2 separate regions of the Homo sapiens genome follow, and region 1 is linked to region 2. Evidence: promoter capture Hi-C in human tissues and cell types (Jung and others, 2019). All regions are on one chromosome and are shown on one strand. The core of a region is centred on a gene start or on the middle of the fragment in contact, and the rest is flanking DNA. Distances in the headings are between cores, read along the strand shown.

What was found. The method cuts DNA at HindIII sites, captures the fragments that hold promoters and counts their contacts. A contact is called where the count stands out against the background at its distance.
Region 1: a fragment that was not itself captured here is called in contact with the fragment with the promoter of CXCR6 in region 2 in 2 of the 25 tissues and cell types used here (mesenchymal stem cells and small bowel).

Annotation. Positions count from the first base shown.
Region 1 is chr3:46,477,361-46,480,060 of GRCh38, forward strand. It overlaps a transcript of LTF not described here. Among named protein-coding and RNA genes, the nearest start is that of LTF, 14 kb to the left of the region's middle. RefSeq lists enhancers at 565-1,066, 1,067-1,566. The HindIII fragment of the contact is 7,156 bases long and covers 1-2,700 here.
Region 2 is chr3:45,942,213-45,944,912 of GRCh38, forward strand. CXCR6 (C-X-C motif chemokine receptor 6) reads left to right here and starts at 1,252. Exons shown (of 2, transcript NM_006564.2): 1 at 1,252-1,328. All of the region lies in intron 14 of FYCO1 (FYVE and coiled-coil domain autophagy adaptor 1), which reads right to left. The HindIII fragment of the contact is 14,146 bases long and covers 1-2,700 here.

The DNA of each region.
Region 1 (2,700 bases), core at 116-2,615, 540 kb after region 2:
GGCCCTTCTGAGCACATCCCAAGGCCACACCTGCATTCTAGGCGACTCCCTTGTCCCTTTGATTCACTGGGTAGTCTGGTGCCTGAAAGGCAGGGTCAGTGATGAGAGTGGTTAAACATCGCAGGCAGGGGAGTTTGAAACCAGCTCTACCTCTTCCCCACTCCCCAGATCTAGCCACGTCATTCAGCCTGTCTCAGCTTCAGTGTCCCCATGTGAAAATAGGAATACTAAAAGCATCTCCCTCATAAAATTGTTAGAACTTAATGAAGTAACTTATAAAGATGCTTAGAACAGTGCCCAGCACATAGGGGCTGCTCAATCGATATTTTTTGAACGAAGGAATGGGTGTGTGAATTAATAAATGAATGGATGTAAGATTTTCAGTACAAGGCCAAACCATACAGTGAAAACTCAGTCAATATTAACTATTATTGTTATTGTTTCCATGCATTTCTGGTCCCCGTTGTGAGCCAGAACCTATGCAGAGTCCTGGGAATCTGCAAAGAGTTCCCTTTCCCCAGGCGGCTCCAGTTGAGTCACAATCCAACAGAAGGTGTTAGCAAAGGCAAGTTCACCCTACAGGGAGGACAGAGGGCCGAGCGGGAGCCACTTTCCCCAGTCTTCCTTCTCAAGCTAACCCAGCAGCGTGCCCCAGCCCTTTTACAGACATCTGTCTTTGTGATTCCTTGGGCCCCTCTCCACACCCACACTCCTTATGCCCACATTCTGTCCTGTTATCTGCAACCCTTTGTAACTCTTTCACTCCTCTCTCTTTTATGACGTCCACTTCTCTCTCCAGTTCTCTGTCTCTCTCACCATCATGCCCTCTTCCCGCCCCACTGCCCTGAGACTTTTCCTAATGGCCCCTCTCAGCAGCCTGGGCAGCCTCCTTGAATTTCTGCTCACCAGTAACCCAGCTGCGTCCCGACTGTCAGTCTTGGCTTTGCTCCACACATCTTCTCTCTCCCCCTCCAAGGGTCTCTGGGCTACAAGGGAAGCTTTCCCAGAACCCATGTGGCCACTCAGTCACTTCCCCAGAGGCTGAAGGTCGCTATGTTGGTGACAAAGGGCAGGTGACACACTTTGCTCTCCACAGTGCTATCAGCAGGCATGAGCAGGGTCCCTAGAGAGTGCCAGGGACCAAAGGGTGAGGCCAGGTCCACCCCGCTCTTAACCATCACTCCCCATCTTCCTGGACAGTGCAGCTGGATGAGGAAGCAGCCGCAGGATGCAACGTAGATGCTAGAGGGCCAAGGGGAGGACAGAAGAGGGTAGGGCAGAAGATGACTGGCAGAATGAGGAACTAGTGGGTGGGCCTGGGGACCTCGTAGATGAAGCAGAACCTGATGGCTATTTGGAAATGGAGGAAAGAGTCACAAAAGTGAGCAATTTCCAGGATATTTGGAAATATTCTGGCTTGAGGTTACTACCTTGAAATAATTTGACCAAGAAAATCAGACACTCTCAGAAAATAATATTTTTTATGCCATTTTACAAATGAGGTCTCTAAGCCCAGAGAGGGCGTGTGGCCTGCTCAGACCTGACACAGTGCGGCCAGGTAGAATCCAGCTTCCTGACTCCTTGCACTTAGAGGGGTTCCCTCAACTAAAGCCATCCTCACAGAGCATTTATCCTGGACCAGGTCCTTGTTAGGTACTGGGTCACCAAACTGAGTTAGACTCAGTTCTGCCCCCAAGGGCAACAGACAAGGGAATAGTCAGTTACCACCATAGGAGATGAGAATGTCCATGGACCACGGTAACAGAAGAAGCATGGAGAACCACGCCTGTGCCCAAGGCTCTGTGCGTGGTAGGGAATCTGCCTCCCACCTGTGGCAGCTCTGGAGGAGGGGCAGCCTGACCTGTGACAGGCAGGGAAAACCCCATAGCCCCCTCTCTCCCACCCTGGCATCTTCCAGCAACCTCCACAAAGTGGGTTTGGCCGGAACCAAGTGATTGAGGGGGAGATTACAGGGCCCGGGAATTGTGGGGCCCTGTGGGTACCTAGAAGACCATCTGCTTTTACTCTGAGGATGTAGGAGCCAAGGCAGAAGGCTGAGAATGGACTGAGAGGCAGAACAAGTGGGGAGCAGAGAGATGATTAGGGAGGCTCCAGCAGTGACCTGGGAGAGAGATGAAGTGGCTTTTCTGTTTGTTTGTTTGTTTGTTTGTTTGTTTGTTTGTGACAGAGTCTCGCTCTGTCACCCAGTCTGAAGTGCAGTGGCACGATCTCAACTCACTCCAACCTCTGCCTCCAGGGTTCAAGCGATTCTCCTGCCTCAGCCTCCCAAGTAGCAGGGATTACAGGCAAGTGCCACCACCCCTGGCTAATTTTTGTATTTTTAGTAGAGACGGGGTTTCACCATGGCTGGTTTCTAGGCTGGTCTCGAACTCCTGACTTCAAGTGATCTACCCACCTCAGCCTCCCAAAATGCTGGGATTACAGGCGTGAGCCACTGCGCCCGGCCAGAAGTGGCTTTGATTAGGATGTGGCAGTGGAGAAATAGTGAGATGGCTGGATTCTTGACATATTTTAAAGGAGGAGGTCATGGGATTTGCTTACATTACAAGGGGATGTGGGGTGTGAAGGAGAGAGGTGGATGATGGCACCAAGGTGTTTGGCCTGAGAAACTAAAAGGAGGTAGTTTCATTAACTGAGATGGGGAAGACTGGGAATAAAGCAGATTGAGGAGGAGGTGGA
Region 2 (2,700 bases), core at 2-2,501:
CAGCCTGACAGTCCTGGGTGACTGCCAGGGATGTGTGTTCTTGGGCAAGTGGGCTAATCTCTCTAATCTTCTGTTTGCCTATCTGTACGTGACTAGGATTAGATGGCTGTACATAGAAGCATCCAGCATAGGGCCAGGCTTGCGGTAGAAATGAGTGTTAGTCTCTGGATCCTGAGGCTGCTCCTGGTCCCTGCTCCCAATGCTTGACATTTGCCCTTAGGAAGAGCCACATGAGAAGGTTTGCCTAGCAGGTGGGAGAGAGCAACAGCATTGGAGAGAAGCAGCCTGAATGGGAGTGCAGAGCCAGAGAAGGCAGGCCAGGCACCTCCACAAGAAGGCAGCTGCTTCTGGGAAAGCAGACATCGAGTCCATGCCTCTCCCTAGTACCCTCTCCACTACAAGGCACTGGGGCATGTGACCCAGGCTGACATGCCTCCAATTCCTGCCTTCCAGCGTTATTTCCCAGAAGGGTCAGTAATGTTAGATCATGGAGACTGACAACTAGAACTGTACTGAGATCAAAGTAGTCAACATCTGGGGAATTCCAGGAGTACAGAGGGCAGCCCAAGGAAACCAGATGATTCCAGCCAGCCTACGCAGGGTGGGTGGGCACTGCCTGCTGAGTGCCTGAGTGGTGTGGGCTTAGGAGGTGGGGCTGCACCAGGCCCTCTGGCAGACCCATCATCATGCTGTTGATTGGTCTGGTAATGACAGATACCTGAGTGTGTATCTTCGATTTTCCAGTTTCTAGCTGTGTGCACCAGGGCTTGTTATTTTGGCTATGGTCCTCAGTGTTCTCATCTATAAAGGCAGGATAATATCCACTGCAGGGCTGCTATGGGGCTTAACAGCTATCACATATGCTGGAGCTGCATATGCACGCAGAACCCAGCCCATACCATGGACTCAGCATTGGCCCAGACCCTAACTGTTCCAAAAAGATGTCTGACTAGTGAATTAAGTAATTTTAAGGTACAAATGCCACCATCTTCGGTGGATGGCCAGAGCCAAACCTCCTTATTGTTCCCCTTTAGTTTACGAATAAAGCTCGTCAGGCCCTGACAGAAGAATCAGCCCCAAAGCAGAATGAAGGGAGTGTGGGGTATCAGTCACCCATCCATCTCTGACCCACGCGTTACACAGGGGCGGGTTGGTCATATGGATTCTGATCTGAAGGACGGGAGTAGGGGGTGGGTCTCTTATAGTAACCAGCTGAGGGCTCTTAAAAAATGTTCAGCGGAAACATGAACCACATCACAGAAGTAGAGGCAGACCTTGCTTCATGAGCAAGCTCATCTCTGGAACAAACTGGCAAAGCATCTCTGCTGGTGAGTCATTTGTTTTACTCTTTATATTGAAAAGAAGACAGGGAGGACTAACCCCAGGTATTGTTGGTATTCTCAGATTCCTGTCTGTAGTAGGGTACAGTGCAAAATGCCAGGCTATGGAGCTCAGCTGCTCTTCGTTCAAATTCCATCACTGCCATTTGCTGCTGTGTGGGTTAAACTGGAGAAACATGAAAACTACTGAACATGTTTCCAGGCACACAGTTAGTGCTTGCAGGCTGATGGTACTGCTAGTAATGGCATAGTCAGACCCACCCAGGGAGATAAGGAGAATCTAGTTATTGTCTATATTTGCTCAATGAATAATCTCTGTTTTCATTTCTTTTGCATAAGACAGGCTGTTTTATCAGATTATCATTTATGTTCTTTTTTCAATATAAATCAACATACTACTGTAGAAACTTTGAAAACTATTTTAAAAAAAGGAAGAAATAAGTCACCCATAATTCCACCAGCTGGAGGCCAACTGTTAATAAAATGTGATCATTTTTTCCAGGTTTCTAAAAGTACGGTCAGTTAAAATCACATAGTTTATCATGAACTCTTATGTGAGGGCCCACAGAATACATGGCAGAAGGATTCAAGGGGTTCATGGACTCCCAGAATTGTAGGGGTGTTTGTGTGTGTGCGTGTGTGTCTGTGTGTGTGTGTGTGTGTGTATATATATATACATTATTTCTGAGAAAAGGTCTGCAGTTTTTAGGAGATTCTCAAAGGAGTTTATGGTCAAAAAAGGTTAAGAATCACAATTTTATATCCTTTTGACATCTATTTGTTGTAATAGTAATAGTTAATACTTATTTTGCATATTTACTTTGTGTTTACACTGTTCTTAGCAATTTAACTGTATTGCATTTTCCAAAATCAGTAAAAATACTTCCTAAACATTTAAGTATATTCTATTTTATGTATGAATTGTAATTTGCTTCATCATTATCAGACTTTTACACTACTTCCAAAGTTGTAGATTTTTTTTTTAATTTTCAGAAAACAAAATAGGATTTTAATTATAGAGGATAAAGAAATGAATGTTTTTAGTTCGCCTAGAAGGGAAAGTAATTTTTCATACTCTATTTGCACAGCACTGTCCAGGCCCAATCTGTTTACCAATTATTATACATCAAAGTTTACCAATTATTACACATGAATTTGCACAGGTCCTTTGAGGAAATGTGTAATGGCAGCATAAGGGACCAGCAAAAGCTGGAACAGGAAGATACCAAAAAAAGGCGAGAGCGAGTCAAGCAATAATGGGGAGCTGAACATTATTCTTAAGAGCAAAGCCACCTGTTTCATATTTTAAATGATGAAAAAATATGTTTTTGCCCATGTGAATCAATAACACATACACATC